Linked DNA regions of Homo sapiens: regions 1 and 2 are each linked to region 3. The links are contacts of gene promoters, found by promoter capture Hi-C in blood cells and fetal thymus (Javierre and others, 2016). All regions are on one chromosome and are shown on one strand. Each heading gives the region's core, a stretch centred on a gene start or on the middle of the fragment in contact. The rest is flanking DNA. Distances are from core to core; before and after follow the strand shown.

Region 1 (3,310 bases), core at 138-2,637, 310 kb before region 3:
ACAACAGAGGCAAAGACTGGAGTTATGCAGCTGCAAACTCCTTAGGAACACCAAGGACTGCTGGCAATAACCAGAAGCTAGTCGACAGAGTGTGGGCCTACAGATACTTTGATTTCAGACTTCCAGCCTCCTTCCACTGTTTCCAGTGTGAAAACAGATTTCTGCTGTTTCAAGCTAGCTAGTTTGTGGAACTTTGTATACAGCAGAATTAGTAAATAAATACATCTATAATAGCAATTTTAAATAGTTCAATGTCTGAGAATAATCTTCTGATGGAACTCATATTTTTTGTTGAATAAAATTTCCTGGAATAAATTACCATTTTGTAAAACATTGGAATACAATTGAGAAAAACTTTAATTTTCCCCTATCTAAATATGGTAAACTATTTTTAAAATCATACACAAAAACAACTTATTTCTTTTATCTAAATATTTGTCAAAGAAAAGTACTTTGAAAAGATACACCAACATAGCACCTGTGAAAATATTTAGGCTAAAATATCTTCCCATTTCAATGTGCAAAATGTAGAATTAAGACTGTTCCATTTAGCAGTTTATGTGGTGTTTCAGCATCTATAGAGACAGTACCTTTAAAACTAAAATAACCATTGTCTAAAGCAAAGATTCTATTTGCAACTGTTAAGAAAATTGCAGAAAATTTAATTTTAAAATTAAGCACAAGGGCCGGGCCTAGTGGCTCACGCCTGTAATTCCAGCACTTTGAGGGGCCGAGGCGGGTGGATCACGAGGTCAGGAGTTCAAGACCAGCCTGACCAATATGGTGAAACCCCGTCTCTACTAAAAATAGAAAAATTAGCTGGGCGTGGTGGCATGCACCTGTAGTCCCAGCTACTCGGGAGGTTGAGGCAGGAGAATCACTTGAACCCAGGAGGCGGAGGTTGCAGTGAGCCAAGATCACACCATTGCACTCAGCCTGGGTGACAGAGAAAGACTCTGTCTCAAAAAAAATAAACAAAGCATAAGATCTTATTAACTTTTTTCAGAAAATTATCAGGATCAAGGTGTTAAAAGATACAGCTAAGAAACTGATTCAAGCATGTGAATATGCACCAGGAATAATTGTTCATGCTGAATGTTCATGTAATATAAATTTTTATTTTAACACATAAGGATATAAATTATCTTTTAAAATGTTAATTTTGAAAATGGTCTGAAACTATTCTATAAGTTCACTAATATATTTGTAAGCCAATAGATATTCCAAATATATAATTTTCATTACATTCGTGCCCCTTTTTACTCTAAAAAATGTGCTAGTTTGGCCAAAAAAATTACATAGTGACCTTGCCATTAATGCATATCAAAAATAAAATCCATTTGACCCCTTAGATATTGTTTACATGATGTGCCCTGTCATTACTTGCTCAGGTGGTTTCCCACAAAGGCAGAAATGACCTTCCCCTAAAGGCAAGAAAAGGTGCCCTCCCTTCCAAAAGCCCAGCCTACTGCTGGGCTAGCCACGAAATGTGGCTTCATCAGGAGGCAAAAATTAAAGAAGGGAGGTGGTGGCTAGTGAGTAGCAGGGCAGCACTATGTAGTACAAACTACTCACCTGAAATTAGAAGTCCTGAGCATCAGAGCTCTGGGTTACCATTAGTAGCAATAATAAAGTTAGGCAAGTCACTTAGCTTCTCTCAACGGCATGCAATTTCTTCATCTATATAATGGGAATACTCTCTTGTTGACCTTACATTACATAAGAGGATTTGGCTAAAAGTTCATGGGCTGGTTTGCAAAAGTGGCTCTTTCTCTTAGTTTCTGCTAAATTACAGATGGAGACATATTTCGATAACCAGAAACATTATGAGAGCAGAAAGTCTTCAGCACTTAGTGCTGTTTCCATGGGCTTGTTTACTTGTACTTCCAGAAAATAAACTAACCACCTTATCTACGCTTATTAGAATCAAATGATTTATTTAATAAACTAGAGCAAAATAACAAAGGGGGAGGATTATTTCTATGTATCAAAATACTCTTCCACAAAAAAGTAGCTTACCAACAAATAAAACCTAGTCAAGATCAAGAGTTTATTTAATTCGTATACTTGGCAAATCCATATCTTAGTTTCAATCTCATCTTTATTCACGACTTCAACTAGAGCTGCAATGAACCATTTTATCTCTATAATGTTGAAAAAACCTGGCCAGGCATGGTGGCTCACGCCTGTAATCCCAGCACTTTGGGAGGCTGAGGCGGGCGGATCACGAAGTCAGGAGATCAAGACGCATCCTGGCTAACACGGTGAAACCCCGTCCCTACTAAAAATACAAAAAATTAGCCGGGCGTGGTGGCGGGCGCCTGTAGTCCCAGCTACTTGGGAGACTGAGGCAGGAGAATGGCATGAACCCGGGAGGCAGAGTTTGCAGTGAGCCAAGATCGTGCTATTGCACTCCAGCCTGGGTGACAGAGCAAGACTCTGCCTCAAACAAAAAACAAAACAAACAAACAAAAAAAGACGAAAAATCCTAATAGAATGATTAACAATTCCAAGCTCTACCCAGGCCCTAACATACAGTTTAATTGCTTTATATCTTAGGGCATATCTTCGATGTCTTGAGTTTGTACAATAGAAATGAAACCCCCCAAAAACAGGGCAAAATTCCATAGGGAATAAAACCAATCACCAGTATAGGGAGTCTTTTGAAGTGTGTTATTAAAATAAATGAATACCTGCAAGTGTTAAGTTTATGACCTCTTTAAAAAAATTTGTTTCATACCCCAAGTACCCTATTCACATCTTGAAGTAATTTTACTAGAAATTACATCTGCAAATCAATAAAAAGTAAAATACCTTTTCATTATATATGACTCTTCTTCGTATCCAGTTTTTTAACTAGTTAACTTTCTGACTCTGTACTAAACAATATCCATTGTTTTCAAACTAACTTTGTCAGAAAGAACCTTAGATGCTAAGCTTTGTGCCACAAAAGCTCTTGGCCTATCTGCTGAAACCTGTGGACTCTTTCTCAGAACAATCCTTTTAAACATTCAATATAAAATACAGATTACAAGGAAAACCAGTTTTACTGAAATATTATCAAATGCTTTTTTTTAAAAGTATTAAATAACAGGATCTAGTGGTAGGTCTAACTACCATAACAAAATAGTGATGTGCAGATGATGTTTTGTGGTATCTGCCTCAACTTTGTGATACTGAAATATCTGTAAATTATATTAGCAAGTCACATGTACTGATGATATTATGTATTTGTTGCCAACACTAACAATGGAAAAAAAAAAATGCTCAATTTATCAGAAGTTAGTAACCTCCAATCCAAGTTTATGGA
Region 2 (3,415 bases), core at 890-3,389, 280 kb after region 3:
AGGGAAATAGGCCATGGACGGTGGCTCACGCCTGTAATCCCAGCACTTTAGGAGGCCAAGGTAGGTGGATCACTTGAGGTTGGGATTTCGAGACCAGCCTGGCCAACATGGTGAAACCCTGCCTCTACTAAAAATACAAAAAATGAGCCGGGTGCAATGGCAGGCACCTATAATGCCAGCTACTCGGGAGGCTGAGGCAGGAGAATCGCTTGAACCCGGGAGGCGGAGGTTGCATGAGCCGAGATGGCGCCACTGCTCTCCAGCCTGGACGACAGAGCAAGACTCCGTCTCTAAAAAAAAAAAAAGAGGGAAATAAACATTTATTTGTATATTGTTATGTAGCCATTAAAATTCTGTTTCCAAGTAATTTTAATTACAGGGGTAAATTCTTATATATCTAAATAAGAATATACACATACACATGTTCCAAAATATTTATTATGTACTTAAGGCATATATATTATATATGTATGTGTGTGTATATATATATGTATTTGTGTGTGTGAACACTAATATTTGCATATATATACACACAAGAAATAAAAACATGTTAAAAATGGCTATATCTGCATTGTAGAATTATGAGTGATTCATGTTTTTCTAACTTCCCTATCTGTATTAAGTGTTCTATAGTTTATATTTGTTACTTTTTACATCAGGAAATAGTAAAGTTATTATTTAAAACTTATGAACAAAAAAGTAACAAGCACATGCAAGCACAGAGTTCTACCAAATGCAAAAAATTTCAAATCAATTATTCAAATGAGACATTAACATCACTTCTGTGGTAGTTTTATATCCATAAAGTCTGATTCTTCTCCTTTGAAGAGATGAAGCTTAATCTTCCTCATCCTGAAAATGGGCTGGACTTAGTGACTTACGTCTTTTTATTTTATTTTTAATTGACAAATAATAATTGTATGTATTTATGGGGTACAATATTATATTATTATATATGTATACATTATGGAATTATTAAATCAAGCTAATTAACATATCCATAACCTCTTATAATTTCTTTGTGGTGAGAACATTTAAAAATGTACTCTTTTAGCAATTAGGGACTTACTTTTAATACAGGAAAATGGAAGAGACTGTGAGACTTTGAAGTAGGTCATAAAAGTCACTGTGGCTTCCTCCTTGCTCTCTCTTGGACCACTTGCTCTGGGGGAAGTCAACTGCCATGTCCTGAGCAGCCCTGGAAAGACCTACATGATGAAGAACTGAGACCTTCTATCAAATGCCAGCAGGGAATTGAGGCCTCCTGTCAACAGCCATTTTAGAAGTAGATCTTCCAGCCTCAGTCAAGCCTTCAGATGACTGCAGCCCTGTCTAATAGCTTGACCGTAATTTCATGAGAGACCTTCAGCCAGAAAACCCAAGGAAACCATTCTGGATTCCTCATCCTCAGAAACTGTATGAGATAAGAAGTGTTTGTTGTAGTACGCCGCTAAATTTGGGGCAATTTGTTACATAGCAATGTATAGCTCATACAATTTCTGGGAAAAAAATAGTTTATTTTCGAATCATTTTTGCATAATGCAAGAATATAAACTTGTCACAGAATAATTTATCCTTGTTTTAGGTGGTCCAAATATTTCATTGTCAGTTATATATTAGCTCAAATTAAATTTTAGATAATATATATTATTATTAATGGTAAAGAATGTGTCACATTTATCTTTATAGCTTTTCTGTACCTAATATTGTGTCTTGTGCGTAGGATGTGCTCAATAAAAATTGATTGAATAAATAAGTGAATGAAAGAATAAATGAATGAGTGAAGGAATTATCTGAAATATTTTTATAAAATTCCCCATATGTATGTATTACTTATTACAAGTCTGGTCCCATAGCTGAAAAAATATTAAACATTATATATATATATATGTTTTTCCCTGATATAGTGGTATATTTTATTATCTCTTGGCTCTACTATGAAATATTCAGTTAGGTGTCATTACTGTTTAATTTGGTTTAGGGCTATTTAGATTGGTTTTTGAAACTGAAGGGGAAAGAAGCCCCTTGCAATGCAATTGATGAAGTGATAAAGACAGCAGGTATAACTATTAGGTGGAGGCATATATATGGGAAAGAACAAGAAATAGGATGTAGTTACAGAGGGCAAAACCTTTCAATGACATTCATTTGTCTTCTAAATTAATAACATCTAATACCTATTAGATTGAGCCATTTGAAATTGCCAATATTTGACCTACAAAGGCAATGATTTCATATTGTTCAAACTAATAACAACTTATTTGCTGGGCACTACGTTTAATATTCATTACAATTCCATAAGGAAATTATTCTTTCAACCTCATGCTACAGATAAAGAAAGTAAGCCATGGAGCAGTTAGGAGATTTGCCAAGGTTTTTAGTAGAAGAAATAGGTAGGATTTAAACTTATGGCTCCAGAAGCCATACAGTTAACCACCATAATCTGTGGCTTCCCCCGAACTATGCTTCCCGAATCTGCCATTCTAAAATGTGTCCTCATTTTTAAGTGGAATAATAGTACCTACTTCATTGGACAGTTGGGGGAGTTACAAGAATAGCACATGTAAAGCCTGGCACTTTGCACATAAGAATGTGATAAATATTAGCTATGTTATAATTAAACTTCAGTATATTCCCCAACCACCATCGTAGCCTTATCTTCTACTAAGACTTACTGCCCACAGCTATGTCATTTTTGTCTTAAAACCAGCCAAACTAAATCACTCAGCCTTCCCTGAAACACTGCACACTTTAGCACATCTCTTTCTGTTGAAACATTCCCATTTTCTAGTCCCTGGTTAGGGTCCCTTCTTCCATTACCTTTCCTGGTCTCTGTAACAATGTGTGATCTCAAGCTCCTGTGTACCACAGTTTCAGTTAGCTCTGCTCTTGTGACACCAGAATTTTGAAATTTGCCTTTTATTATAATTCTTTATGTGCTTATATCTTGTATAAATGCATTAGTGATCTGGTGAAATCATATTCATATTTGTATTATTCCTTGTAGTATCTAGCACAGTGTATTGAATGCATTAGGTACTCAGCAAATGTTTATTGGATCTAATTCACTAATGCATATGAATGTGTTGAAGTCACTGAAGTGAGGAAAAATAATTAAACTCAAGGAAAGGGTATTAGAATGATAATTAATTTTTTTATAGTTCTCTAATCAAAATAATTCATTTATTTAAGCACTTAGTTTTACTTTATCTTTTATACAAAAATATCTGGAAAAATAAAAACAAGTCCAAATGATACCCATCAGTTCTTTATGTCTTTTGCAGAAAGATTTCCAAAGAAAAAAAGTACTATCACAAATAATCACTTCAAGCTCAAATTAATTTAAGTGCATTATATTGTATTGGTGCCAATACAGCATCACATATTTAGGGTAAAGATTAAAGGTGAAACCTTT
Region 3 (3,117 bases), core at 456-2,955:
AGCCCAATGTATTCACACGCCTCCTTATGAGAGGTAAGCCGGATATAAAAGGTAGAAGAGTCAGCAGAGACAGAGGAGAAGTAGAGGTTGGTGTGATGCAGGTTGAAGACTGGAGAAAGGGCTATGAGGCAAGGAATGCTGGTGAAAAAGGAGAGGAAGTAGATTCTCTTCTAGAGCCTTCAGAAGGAATACAGCTCTGAGGACAGCTTGAGTTTAACCTTTAAGACTTACTTTGGACTTGAGACCCCTAGAATTACAAGACGATAAATTTGTGTTGGTTAAGCCACTGAGTTTGTGGTAATTTCTTACAGAAGCAACAGGAAACTAATATGCCCACATTATAACACCTTCATTTCTCCCCAGTGTAGAGCAATGTCTTCCTAAAGGATGAATGAAAATATTACCTCACACTTCTCTTAGTTCCCAGAATCTTAATATCACCAATGTTAAGGAATTTGTGGGGATAAAAGCAGAGTGTTGCTTATTTACTTCATTGAAAAAAAAAAAAGCTGTCGAGTAATGCTTAAGAGCTACTAATATTTATTGGCAAGCTAATTGTAACATTCAAGGTAAATATGTAGCTATAAAGTACTGCAATCACATAAATGAACAAATATGTATCAGCTAACATATAACACTGAACAAAATCAGTCTTTATTAAACCAAGCCTTCCTTCATAATGCTTTTTGCTTAAAATTCTGGAAATTTTAAAATATGAAATTGTGATGTGTCAGCATTATTTTTGCAGTATTATTAAGAAATAGATTGACTATACCACAACTTGATTTATTTCGTTAATATAATATAAGAAGGATAATACAAACATCAGAAGATTCTTTCACAGTTAGATTGAAAGTGCACACTTAGGCAGCTAGTAGCTAACTCTCCAAATGTTCCTTAATGATTTTCTTGTACAGCAGGGCTTGCAGATCCAAGCAAATTTTCCTCCCATTCTTCAGCGTGGCTCTGGCAGGGAAAAGAGAAGAGACGTGACTTTCAGTCCTTGGGTTTGCAAATGGCATTAGAAGGGGGAGGGATGGGCAGAGGAGGCACGGAGCGGGAGCACTAACTGATGCAGTGCGAGGACTCACATGAGTTGGGCAGTGGGGCAGTGGGGTCCGGCCTTGATCACCTCCAGGCTGGTGATGTGCCTGGGACGGACCTGGGAGGTGGTCTTCACACACAGGCACTGCAGGTCCCCATCTTCTTCAGCTTCAGCTGAGGGGGAAAGGGAGGGAGTAAGAGAGGAGGAGGGGTGGGAGTTGTGACTCCCTGAGTAGCCAGAGATACTTTAGGGACCTTTTCCACTACCTTCAGCTTTCTTTTCCTTAGCCGTAAATCAGACCTCTCTCAGACAGAGGTTGTGCTGATCAGGTGGCGAGGTGCACGTGCAGTGCCTGGCACTGTACCCGCAGACTCAGCACGCGCGCAATAAGAGCAGCTGCGATCATGATCCTAGAGGATTCCTCCCCAGCCCCAGGGCTTCCCGGACTCCCCCTCGCCGCTGCTGGCCCTCCCAGCCTGGTTTCTGCTCTCACCTCTGGCGAAGGCGACCACAACTGGCAGGAGCAGCAACGCCAAGAACAGCATCTCCTGGCGGGTGGCGCGGGTGAGGCGGGACCTGGCTGCGGAGCTCATGTTGCAGCTGAGGTTCCAGCAGGATCCCAGTGCGCAGGGAAAGTCGGGCTGGGGTTCTGCAGGCAGTGACTCCTGGCCTCACCAGGCTTCTTTTATCCCCCGTCACTGTCCCACTGTCCTTCCAGTCCGGAAGCCTGGGGTGGACAGCGAGGAACTGTGGTGCAGGAGCTAAGACACTGCTATGAAGACTCAGACTCTGGCCAGCCAAGATTACAAAACAAAAGGCTGGGGGCAGCTGCCTTGGCTAGGAGGTGGTACAAAGATGCATACCTCCAACCTCAGTTTATATACACTTACATTTGTGGAGTTAGAAACACTACTTGCATCTTAGAAGAGAAATATTTTCTGTGTTGTATCATAGTAGAGTTCTCTGTAGTCACCAAGCAACTTACACAGCAGGTGGCTTCAGGACCCAGACAGTTCTTGTTTCCTTCTCAACTCAAGAACTGCCCATATGCTCCTAACTTCAGTCTTGATTACCATTGAGTTTGATGGCTGTGTGTTTGAAGAGTGTGCTATTTGCAATTGTTTTCTAATACTAATAAGTTTAATTTGGTCTCTAGGTGATGACTCTTCTGAATTTCACCTGAATGTGGAAAACTTCCCTAGTCTCTGGATGAGATTTACCAGGCTCCACCAACAATCACCCAGTATACTGTAGGATGCAAGATCTATTTCCCGTTACTCTTAGAAAAATTGCAGAAGTAATATTTGAATGCATTATTTTTATAAAAACTTAGCTCCTGGATGTTTCTTCATTGTTTCAATCCTGAATAATAGTCCAGAAGAGAGGACAAGGAGAGTTTGCCAGGCCATGTCTTCCAGAGCCTGCTGTGTCCTCAGTCACTGCCAGTGACAGGGTGAGATGGGCTGCACTGTTGGCAGGGAGCAGTGATGCTCTCTGTGGGAGGATTCAGGGCATCTGGGAGTTGGGTGTGAGAATGATGGGAGGTGACAGTGAAGGGGATGCAACAGAATCCCACACGGGAAAGGGGAAGAGATCCATATCGACCGTTTTCTCTTCTCTAAAAAAGAATGACTTTGGCTCTTGATCAGGGCAAGGTACACCCTCAACCCAAAGCCCAAGGTTCCCTGTCACTCTGACTAACAGTGGTGAAGGGTGTCAGGGACCCACTGGATGGAACTAGCTGATATTCTAATGCTCAGCAAACCTGCATTTTTGTAGGAATATGCAATTCTTTCTCCTACTCTCCCTACACCTGCCTATTCAGCTGGCTAAGACCTATTCATATTTCTGGTGTCAGCTTAAATATCACTTCCTCAGGTGTGCCTTCCCTGACAGCTATATATAATTGTGTTCCCTTGTTGTTCTATCTTGCAGAACTCTGTTCTTCGTATTTCTCACAGAATACACAAACATACACACACATATATTGTAGATATATATATATATATGTGTGTGTATGTGTATCTGTGTATTTAAAAGTGTTTAAAATTGTTTTGTTTCTTAAATGGAAA

The links. The method cuts DNA at HindIII sites, captures the fragments that hold promoters and counts their contacts. A CHiCAGO score of 5 or more calls a contact.
Region 1: a contact is called between a fragment that was not itself captured here and the fragment with the promoter of PF4V1 in region 3, in 1 of 17 cell types (neutrophils). The highest score is 5.8, in neutrophils.
Region 2: a fragment that was not itself captured here is called in contact with the fragment with the promoter of PF4V1 in region 3 in 1 of 17 cell types (megakaryocytes); the score reaches 5.3 in megakaryocytes.

What each region holds. Positions count from the first base shown.
Region 1 is chr4:74,163,030-74,166,339 of GRCh38, reverse strand. All of the region lies in intron 1 of MTHFD2L (methylenetetrahydrofolate dehydrogenase (NADP+ dependent) 2 like), which reads right to left. Among named protein-coding and RNA genes, the nearest start is that of MTHFD2L, 6.6 kb to the right of the region's middle. RefSeq lists an enhancer at 1,425-1,554. The HindIII fragment of the contact is 3,104 bases long and covers 1-2,939 here.
Region 2 is chr4:73,570,022-73,573,436 of GRCh38, reverse strand. It overlaps RASSF6 (Ras association domain family member 6), which reads left to right. Exons shown (of 11, transcript NM_177532.5): 11 at 1-1,887. Among named protein-coding and RNA genes, the nearest start is that of RASSF6, 49 kb to the left of the region's middle. The HindIII fragment of the contact is 2,602 bases long and covers 839-3,415 here.
Region 3 is chr4:73,851,884-73,855,000 of GRCh38, reverse strand. PF4V1 (platelet factor 4 variant 1) reads right to left here and starts at 1,705. Exons shown (of 3, transcript NM_002620.4): 1 at 1,539-1,705; 2 at 1,092-1,218; 3 at 518-966. The coding sequence starts at 1,638. The coding sequence ends at 879. The HindIII fragment of the contact is 5,836 bases long and covers 1-3,117 here.